Regions from separate parts of the Homo sapiens genome. Here regions 2 and 3 are each linked to region 1. Evidence: promoter capture Hi-C in 16 types of primary human blood cells and fetal thymus (Javierre and others, 2016). All regions are on one chromosome and are shown on one strand. Each heading gives the region's core, a stretch centred on a gene start or on the middle of the fragment in contact. The rest is flanking DNA. Distances are from core to core; before and after follow the strand shown. Region 1 holds the start of TUFM (Tu translation elongation factor, mitochondrial). Region 2 holds the start of TAOK2 (TAO kinase 2). Region 3 holds the start of TBC1D10B (TBC1 domain family member 10B).

Evidence for each region. The method cuts DNA at HindIII sites, captures the fragments that hold promoters and counts their contacts. A CHiCAGO score of 5 or more calls a contact.
Region 2: a contact is called between the fragment with the promoter of TAOK2 here and the fragment with the promoter of TUFM in region 1, in 1 of 17 cell types (non-activated CD4 T cells). The highest score is 5.1, in non-activated CD4 T cells.
Region 3: the fragment with the promoter of TBC1D10B here is called in contact with the fragment with the promoter of TUFM in region 1 in 1 of 17 cell types (fetal thymus); the score reaches 6.6 in fetal thymus.

What each region holds. Positions count from the first base shown.
Region 1 is chr16:28,845,097-28,848,058 of GRCh38, forward strand. TUFM (Tu translation elongation factor, mitochondrial) reads right to left here and starts at 1,252. Exons shown (of 10, transcript NM_003321.5): 1 at 1,122-1,252; 2 at 816-1,010; 3 at 218-384. The coding sequence starts at 1,173. It also overlaps a transcript of SH2B1 not described here. RefSeq lists an enhancer at 1,114-1,603. The HindIII fragment of the contact is 15,792 bases long and covers 1,024-2,962 here.
Region 2 is chr16:29,971,965-29,975,187 of GRCh38, forward strand. TAOK2 (TAO kinase 2) reads left to right here and starts at 1,904. Exons shown (of 16, transcript NM_016151.4): 1 at 1,904-2,684. TMEM219 (transmembrane protein 219) reads left to right here. Exons shown (of 6, transcript NM_001083613.2): 6 at 986-1,084. It overlaps LOC124903762, which reads left to right and starts at 1,658. Exons shown (of 2, transcript XM_047435036.1): 1 at 1,658-1,816; 2 at 2,033-2,671. The coding sequence starts at 1,658. The coding sequence ends at 2,671. RefSeq lists a silencer at 1,594-1,963 and enhancers at 2,387-3,158, 2,865-2,994. The HindIII fragment of the contact is 1,984 bases long and covers 1,608-3,223 here.
Region 3 is chr16:30,369,074-30,372,338 of GRCh38, forward strand. TBC1D10B (TBC1 domain family member 10B) reads right to left here and starts at 1,421. Exons shown (of 9, transcript NM_015527.4): 1 at 155-1,421. The coding sequence starts at 1,110. It also overlaps a transcript of MYL11 not described here. RefSeq lists silencers at 847-926, 1,017-1,306. The HindIII fragment of the contact is 4,560 bases long and covers 1-3,035 here.

The DNA.
Region 1 (2,962 bases), core at 2-2,501:
TCTTCAGTTCACATCCATATAGCCAAGTGTAGCAGTTAGAAACTCAGGCCCACCTTTCTCTACCATCTCCTCACCACCCATTCTGCGTGGCCAAGACCACAAACCTGCCATCTCATACCCAAACACTGAATATCTTAATCTCCTCCCCACAAGCCTAACATTTATCCTGACAAGAGGCAGCTTCTGGCCCTGTCTCCAGTGTCCCAGCAACCCTCACCTTAACATAATCTGCATGACCCGGGCAGTCTGTGTGGGCGTAGTGGCGGGCGGCAGTGCTATACTCCACATGAGCCGCATTGATGGTGATACCCCGAGCTCGCTCCTCCGGGGCATTGTCAATCTCCTCGTACTTCTTGAACTTAGCCCCACCTCCCTCAGCTAGAACTAAAGGAGGAAAAGAACACACCTCTCAGCTAAAGTTCCAGTGCTAGAGGCAGAGCTTAGACCACGCCCCTGAACCCTCCCACCTAAATACATAACCTCCTCCAATCTCTAACTCTTCCAGCAGAGAGAACTGTGGGTCAGAAAGAAATGTTAGAGGGCCTTAAGGGTCTGCCCTGTGACTTCTTTAGGGTACAGCCTCTGCTTGCAGAGCATTCCCCACGACTTTGTGATCCCCAAGCCATTGGTGGATCACAAAGTTCTTCCTGTTCAGGAGAAATTTGTCTCTTGCATCTCCCAATCCACCTGTCGCACAAATTCGGGCTCTTGGGGCCACAGTAAACTCCTCCAGCAGACACTCTGCTGGCCTTGCCTCCCTGGCTCCAGGTCCCATCAGTAGATAGGGCGCTGCTGGACGCCCCAACCCCACTCACTCTTCGTGATGGCTGCAGTCAGCGTGGTCTTCCCGTGGTCCACATGGCCGATGGTACCCACATTCACATGTGGCTTGTCGCGCACGTAAGTCTTCTTGGCCTCCACGGCCAGGCCGCGGCACAAGAGAGGCAATGCCGGGGCTTTCAGCAGCCGCAACAGACCCTGCAGCAGGAAGGTCCGGCCGGCGGCGAGACCTGCCGGGACCGAAGCTTGGAGTCAGGCAGGGAAGGGGTCAGACCGAACCCAGCCACCTACCACTCCCCCAAAGTGTTCCTGGGCCGCCATCGCCCTCCCTGACCACTCACCGCTGAAGTGGGGCGTCGCGCGCAGCAGGGTGGCGGCCGCCATTGTGGTCATACTCGCGCCCCGGTAACCGGGGAGCCGGGACCAGGAGCCCGAGCGCACAGAAGAAGAAGGGCGCCTGCGGCTGGAAGGCACTTCCGGCGGAAGTTAGAGCTGGGAGGGCAAGTCCGGGCCCCTCTAGCCGCCAGTGTCTATGGCCGTCTCAGCCGACGTCGGGCGCGCGGCTGAAGACGTCATGGAGGGGGCTGGTGTCTCGAGGGCGGAGTATGATGGAGAGGTTTTCCACCACTCGCGCCTCTCGGGCTGAGGGGCAACGTAGTTCTCTCTGGCGGTCGCAGGGGGCACTGAGGAGCGTCCCCTAAATCACCGGCGCCGCGAAGGCTCATGGGCGTAGTAGTTCTCAGGTCGGCGGGCTGTGGAGGTGATCAGAGTGGGAGTCAGGCGGGCTAGGCCGGACCCGGAGGGAGGGGCTCGGGCTCCGGGAGGCAGCTGCGGCTCCGACTGCTCAGGAACCTCCTCCTGGGCCCGGCAGAGAGAGACCCCGAGTCCCCCGGAGTCCGACTCGCTACGCGGGTCTTGCGAGATATCTGGCCGCCTCTGCCGCAGCTGGAGGTAGGGGACCAGGTCCTGGACGCCTTTCGGGGATGGGGTGAAGTGTGACCTCCCTCTTCGCTGAGACTTTGTTTTCTAATCTGTAAAATGGGAATAGTAGTATCCACTTCATAGGGAGAGCCTGACATCTAGCCCTGAGAGGAGATGAACTGGGTAGGAGTCAGTGTTGGGCCCTGTGAGGTCAGGCAGCTTGCGGGGACCCTGTACTGCTAGACCTCACAGGGCCAGAGCCCACAAGACAGACAGCTTCGCTGCCCACCCCTGTAGTCCCTCAGCAGCCTAAGGAGCAGTTCCGTTGGGCATCGCCCCACCCATCTAATTTTGCAGATGAGGAGCCAAGGATGAGGAGCCAGCTAGGGGAGCCTTTAAGGGGAGCCTGAGTCTCCTTTAATCTGTCGGTGTCCCCAGCACCTAACAGGGTGGAGCATGCAGTGAATGTTGAATGAATGGGTGCAAGGGTAGTCAATGTCCCTTAACTTTCACATCCATCATCTCATGGCAGCTTCCACAGGGCACTCCAAAGTGTTAATTATGGCTGCTTAACCCTGGCTAATGTTTCGGAACTCATCAGATCCTGAGACTCAGTGGACAGTGTTTGTTTCAAATAGATTCCCTAATTCCTCCCCTGGAGGTTATGATTCCGTGGGGTCTATGCACAGACTGGGAAGCTATATAACAAACACTCTTCTAAAACTGAGAAGAGGCTGGGCACGGTGGCTATAGTGCCAGCCTATAGTCCCAGCAGTTTGGGAGGCTGAGGTGGGAGGACGGTTTGAAGCCAGGAGTTCAAGACCAGCCTGGGCAGATTAGGAGACCCTATCTCTACAAAAAAAAATTTAAAATTAGCCAGGCACAGTAGCATGCAGCTATAGCCCCTCCTACTCAGGAGGCCGAGGCAGGAGGATCGCCTGAGCTCAGGAGTTCAAGGCTGTGGTGAGGTATGATCATGACACTGCACCCCACCGTGAGTGACAGAGAAAGACCCCATCTTTTTTTTTTTTTTTTTTTTTTTTTTGGAGACAGAGTCTCACTCTGTCGCCCAGGCTGGAGTGCAATGGGGCGATCTCGGCTCACTGCAACCTCCACCTCCTGGGTTGAAGCAATTCTCCCACCTCAGCCTCCTGAGTAGCTGGGACTACAGGCATGTGCCACCACGCCTGGCTAATTTTAGTATTTTTAGTACAGATGGGGTTTCACCTCGTTGGCCAGACGGCTCTCGAACTCCAGACCT
Region 2 (3,223 bases), core at 654-3,153, 1.1 Mb after region 1:
CCTGCTTTATAATGTATTGCCATGTATGTATTCCTAAATAATATAGTTTGGTTTTACTTATTTTTGAAACTATGTAGACAGAATCATACACATTCTTTTGTGGCTGACTTCTTTCAAGCAACATTGTGATTTTAAGACTCATAACTAGTTCACATCCAAGCATTTGGGTAACAATGGTGAGTTAAGAGGGTTCACATTTGATGATTTGTCCTGAATATGAACCATGTTTGTCTTGCTTTTGTCCTGAAATTCCAATACCCAGTTTTATGATGGAAATTTTGTAAAATTCAACTTGAACCGCTCAGAAGAGTCTAACTGATGATACTCATTTACTGGGGACATAGTATGTGCCCAAGAACTTGACATGCACCTTCTGTCTTCCATTTAGTCATCGTTACCTTTAGAAAAAGCTGATTCCGTTAACAAGATCTTTGGAGGGAATCAGCTTCACAAACGTAGCAGTGGGTGGGGGTCATGTTGGTTAACCAGTTCACACATCAGCTCACTAAAGGAAAAAATATTTCTGCAAAAAATCTTCACTTGTCAGAGGGGGGTGCATGAAATTTGAGAGCCATGTGTTATGCATCCAGCTCTTGAACTGGTCTCAGCTTCAGCTGGCTGCAGTGCCCTAGGAAGTTACTATGGGAAAAGTGGAAATAGTTGAGGCCCAGGGAACTGATCAGGCCAGAGGAAGTGGAAGCTCAAGATCAACTGTGCTTATTTTGCTGATGGCTGGGCCTAAATGCCCCAACCACCTACTTGGGACAGGAAATGACAGGACCCTCTCAACCTTGGACTGGGAAAGGAGGGCTTCCTGGCCCCTGACAGACCCTGGGGTCCTGAGGCTACCTTAGTTGGGATTAAATGCCCGTATTGGTCTCTAGCTGTCACTCCCTCTGCTCCTTCCTCAATTTCTGCACACATCTCAGAGCTTCCTCTAGCAGCTCTTCGACCTGTTTTGTTGTTTTATTTTCTTTCTCCCCAGGTGTGAATCAACTTCTTGGGCCTTGGCTCTGAGTTGGAAAAGGTTTTAGAAAAAGTGAAGAGCTGGAATGTGGGGGAAAATAAAAAGCTTTTTTGCCCAGTGGCGTGTATGGTGTTTATTGGGGGTTGGATTGAGGTGGGGATTTTAGGGTAGGCAGGCTTAGAAGTTTTGGGGGACTCTTTCCTGTTGACTCTCTAGTTTGGACACAGGTTGGCATAGGGCATAGGTTACTTGAGCTCTCCCCATGGTTGACTTGGCTTTGGTAAACACCTGTCTTGTTTTCTTCTACGAAATAAAATGGATAATTACAGTTAGTTGGGCGGGTGGGGTGTCAGGTCATGGAAATGCTGTGACATAAATGCACTGTGACCTTGGCAAGTCTTGCAACCTGCAGCGCCTCAATTTCCGTAAGAGATTTGACCGATTGAGTTTTCCCAGCGTCGACGCGCAAAGATTCCTCGCACTTGGAGGCCCTTTTCCAGGTTAGATGGTTGCTAACCTCGGAGCAGTCTATTTTCCCGCCTTTTCCGCGCCCAGCAGCAGCTTCCTTTGCCCCTCCCAACTTCCACCCTGCGCGCAGTCGCAGATCGCCGCTGCTGTCCGTCCACCCGCGCCCCCTCAAAGCTTCCCCTAGCAACAAGCTCGGGCTCAGAGCGAAGGCGGGGCGAGCGCATGCGCTGCAGCTCTGTCCACCGCCAGTCGTGGGACAGAGTGCCGGGCTCCTCCCCTTGCAAGTCTAGCTCTTCTCCCCGCCTCCTCCGGCCTGGGGTCCGCGTGGCGGGGCGGGCGCGCACTCGGGCTTGGCGGCTGCCGGTCTCCCAGGCCGCGGCAGTGAGGAGAGAGGGCGGGGCTGAGTCCTCTGCGCCCCCGCCCCCTTTAGCCCGGCGTCCCTACCGCGCCTGCGCGCTCCCGCCCGGTCTCCATCTTGGAATTGGGAGGAAGAGGGAGAGGGAGACCGGGACGAGACCGGGGCTGTGGTGCGGAGAGAGGCTGAGACGGAGAAGAGGAGAGGCAGAGAGGGCGCGGGGACCGTCAGCAGCACCTTAGCTACAATCGTTCAGCTATTCTCGGAAGAGAGAAGGGAGAGGGAGGAGGCCGGGGCGGGAGTGGGGGCTGTCACCCTCGGACCCCGGCGTGAGAGGGGCCGTGCGGCCGGACGTCCTCGGGGTGGGCCCCCAGTCGGTGGCCGAAGACCTACAGCTCAGGCCCCTGGGTCCCAAATTTCCAGGCTTTGCCCCTCCTCCTTTCTCAGATACCCGGGTAACAGTCCTCATAGTCCAGATATCCGGGACTCGGGTCCCAACCTCTCTAAACCTGGGTCTCTGTTTCATAGAATTTCAAATATCAGGTTCAGGCCCCTGCGTGCACCAGTATCCGGGGTTCATTCCCCGGGCGTTCAAATATCGGATTCAGTCTCCATCCCGTTCAGATATTCGGGGTTCAGACCCCACAATCAGAAATCCGGAATTCGGCAGCTGTCGCCCTCGACGAGGGGGAGGACTGGACCGCGAGGTCAGATTAGGTTGTCACCCCCTCCCCTCCAGGGGAGGCTTCCCGGGCCCGCCCCTCAGGAAGGGCGAAAGCCGAGGAAGAGGTGGCAAGGGGAAAGGTCTCCTTGCCCCTCTCCCTGCTTGGCAGAGCCGCTGGAGGACCCCAGGCGGAAGCGGAGGCGCTGGGGCACCATAGTGACCCCTACCAGGTGAGACACGGGGTGCAGGGGCGCGGGTCCCTGTGTCTAGTTCTGAGAAGAAAGGGTGCGCCTTTCTGAGAAGCTGGACTTGGGTAGGCCCTCTCAGGATGGGGAAGCCCAGCTGAGCGAGTGGTCAGCCTCTGGCTAGCCTTGCCTTCTGTTGCCACCCCCTTCCCCTTCCTCTTCCCTTCATTGTGTCTGGTTGGTGGGGGACCTCAGGTGACAGGGTCTCTGATGTCACCGGCGTTCACACCCTAGGGTGCTTCAGCTAATCAGATGGATTTGCACTTCAGTCTTCTCTCCTTCACTTTGCCCCTCACAGCCACCTCTCCTCCCTGATATGTCCCGTTCTCCTGGCTATTCTGTGGTTTTGATTCCCATGCCTCTGATTCCCATGGTGGGTCTGCTTATCTGCTTTTCAGGCCTGGTCTGGTTGGATTTCTTGTCCTTGCAAGGAAGTGTGTGTATATGTGTTTGTGTGTATGCGTGTGTGTGTGTGCTTGGAGGTGCCTGGCAATGTTTTCCCCCAGCTGCAGTTACCTTCCAAC
Region 3 (3,265 bases), core at 171-2,670, 1.5 Mb after region 1:
ATGCTCAAGACACGGCAGCTCGCGCTGATCACCCCGTGGATCCTCAGAGGAGGCTGGGCTGCCAGAGTCTGGGCAAAGTGTATCGTTTTCGTTTCGCCCTCCCCCAACCTTTGCTTCCCCGAGGCGGTCCCGCTGGGTGCCCACTGGTACTCACAGGCTGCCCGAGTACTGGCTGCCCCCAAGGAAGCCATACTTGTCCGTCTTGCGCAGGGCCAGCCCGTTTATCTCTGAATCTGAGCCCATGGAGCTCACATCATCCGCCAAGGACTCCAAGGTCCCAGACATGAGGCTCACGGAGTCCAAGTAACTCAGCGTGTCCGGGGCCTGCCCTCGAGGCCCAGAGATGCCAGGTCCCAGGCTGGACGTGGAGCCCAGGTCTTGAGAGTTTTCAGCAGGCTCCGGAGCTGGGGTCACGGTCACGACAGCTACCGGAGCCTCACAAGTCCCAGAGGGGCCTGTGCCAGGGCCTGAGGGGTCCTCAGGAGCCTGTCCTGCTGATGCTGATGTTGCTGCGGCAGCTCCATGCCCACCTGTCACTTGTCCTGATGCACTCCGTGCAGTCACTCCTGAGGCCACTGTGGTTCCCGGCTTGGGGGCAAGCGGGGGTTTGGCGGTCAGGGCACCAGGAGCCGTTCTGGAAGGGGTCCTGGTAGGGGTCCCGGTGGGGGTCCCTGGTCCTGGGGCGGGTGAGGGTCGAGCCTCCTCTGTCTTCGGCGAGTCTGCCCCTGCGGCCAGAGCCCTCGATGTCTCAACTCCAGCCACTGCCGCGGGCTCTGGGGATTCCGGGCCGGAGGGGAGCTGCGGCTTTGGGGCTTCGGGCGAGGCCTCCAGGGTCAGCACCACCACCGTGCTGCCCGTGACAGCCGGGGCTGGGGCCGGGGCTGGGGCCGGGGCCGGAGCAGAGGTCTCGGCCGACCCCGGGACCCAGGCGGGCCGCGCCTCCCCGGGGGCCACCAGGGTGACGGGGGCCGAAGTGGCCGTAGTCACTGGAGGTCCCGGAGCCACCACCACGACGGGCCCGGCCCGGGAACCCCGGGGCGGCGGCGAGGGGGCCGCGGGGGCGCCATGACGGCGCGGCGGGGCCACCAGGGGCGCCGTGCCCGTCTCCATGGCCGCGGGCCGCCCCTCACATCCCCCCGCCGGGGAGGCCGCAGAAGGCGCCGCCCCTCGGGCCTCCCGGCGAGGCCAGCCGAGAAAGGGGAGAGGGCGAAGGGCGCGGCTCGGCGCGCGCCGGGGGCGGAGCGGCCGCTGGGCGCGCAGAGGCGGGGCAGGGGTCGGGGGGCGCCGCGCGCCGGGGTCTCTCTCGAGCCCTCTCACCCCCTCGCGCGCTCTCGCCACCGCCCCCTCCCTCCTGCTTGGGGGCGAGCCGCCGACCTCGCGCCTGCGCACACGCCGCAGAGCCGGCTCCGCGCCAGCGTCTCGGCGTTCCACGCCTGCGCGCGGACTGGCTCATCGCGCTCCTTTTTTCTCCCGCCTAGTCAGAGGATTTGGACGAATAGTGGGAGAGAGAGAACTGGGCTTCTGCCAATCGTTGGAATCGTGGGCGGGGCTGGAGGCGAAAAAGGGGTGGGTCATCTGGAAAGAGGAAACGGAGAAAGCTAGGGCTGTAAGACCAATCAGAGGACGAGGAAAGGCAGGGGGCGATGGGACGAAAGAAATAACCAATAGAAACGCAGGGGTCTGAACCTCCTGGCCAATGAATATGACTGAAGGGTGAATGACCGCGGAAGGGCGGAGGAGGAGGCAGGGCTGTGCGAGTAAGAGGTGGGGCCTGGAGGCTTCTTAACCAATAGGAATGGTAAAAAGGGAGCCAATGAAAAGGGGAGCAGGTGGAGGTCAAATTGACAGGCAGTGATGTCTATTTAGGCGGTGACAGACAGCATCCGCAGTCAATAGGAAGAGCTGAAGAATTCTTTAGGTCTCCCAAAATGGTCAGTAAGGAATGACAGCTGGGAGGAGGCGGGGCAAGCTAGAGATTAATTCGCCCCGTCAGCCAATGATCGTGTTCTCCCACTTTGGCCACAGGACAGGAAAATAGATAGCTGTCTCAGCCAATGGGAGCATCCAAAGGGCAAAGATGCTGCCAGCAGGCGGTGCCAGCCCAGGGATAGTCGGTGACAACCGGAGACAAGCCTTATGGGAGGGTGACAGCTGGGGACAGCACGGAGAAGGGGCGGGGGCATTAGTGCAGCCCTCAACCAATGAGTGCCGCGCTGCCCCCTCTCGAGTCCTTTCCGGTCCCCTATTCTTCGTTCAGCTCCTGAGCCCCACACTCTGGTGGTCTGTGGGACCCTGAGCCCCACCACAGATCCAGTGCCCTGACCCAGTACTCTCATCCTTTACTCTATAATTCTCCGATCTCGGCCCCCAACTAACCCCAACACTCCAGGCCCAGGTGGCAATAGCCAGAGCCCCCAGATCCTATAAGCAACCCATATCTCTGCTTCACCCATTTCCTGCGGGAATCCCAACCTCCAAGTCCCTCTCCTCAGTTCCCATCTATCTGAGCTCCTCCCCAGAACCCAGGCTCCAGTTCCTCAGACCTTATCCCTCTGAGTACCCCCTCCATTTCTTCTAGTGGGGATCTCAAACCCCAAATCCATGAATCCCTAATACCATGAACTCCCCATATGTGTGTTACTATTCTTTTGGGGATCCAAGGCCCCAGTCCCGTCAACCCCTCTCCCCTCACTGCCACATCCCTCTGTGCTCCTCATGTTCCACTGAGAATCCCGACCTCAATCTCATGAGCGCTCCAGGTTGTCCTTAGATCACAAGCATAAAGACCTGACGTTATGAGCTCCAACCTTCCAACTTCTAAACGCCCTCTTCTTTCTCTGACCCCCATATTCTGATTTCCATATAGCATCCACCATCCTGGAATTCCAGTGAGACCTAGCTCCCGACTTCTCAGCTCCTCCTTGGTTTCTGAGTCCTCTAAGGTCCCTCACTCCCAACTCAGCCCCATGTCCTGTCAATTCCCACTCAGTGTCTGATCTCCTTCTCCTCACCTTTCCCATCTCCCGTTTGACCCAAGCTTCCTGAGCTCTCCTCCCATTCCCCTTTTTGGAGTCCTCCTCCTCTCCCAGAACCCAGTAATAAGTGGGCTCCTCCCTGGCCTGGACCCCCGTGGTAACCCTATAAGGCGAGGCAGCTGCTGTCTGAGGCAGGGAGGGGCTGGTGTGGGAGGCTAAGGGCAGCTGCTAAGTTTAGGGTGGCTCCTTCTCTCTTCTTAGAGACAACAGGTGGCTGGGGCCTCAGTGCC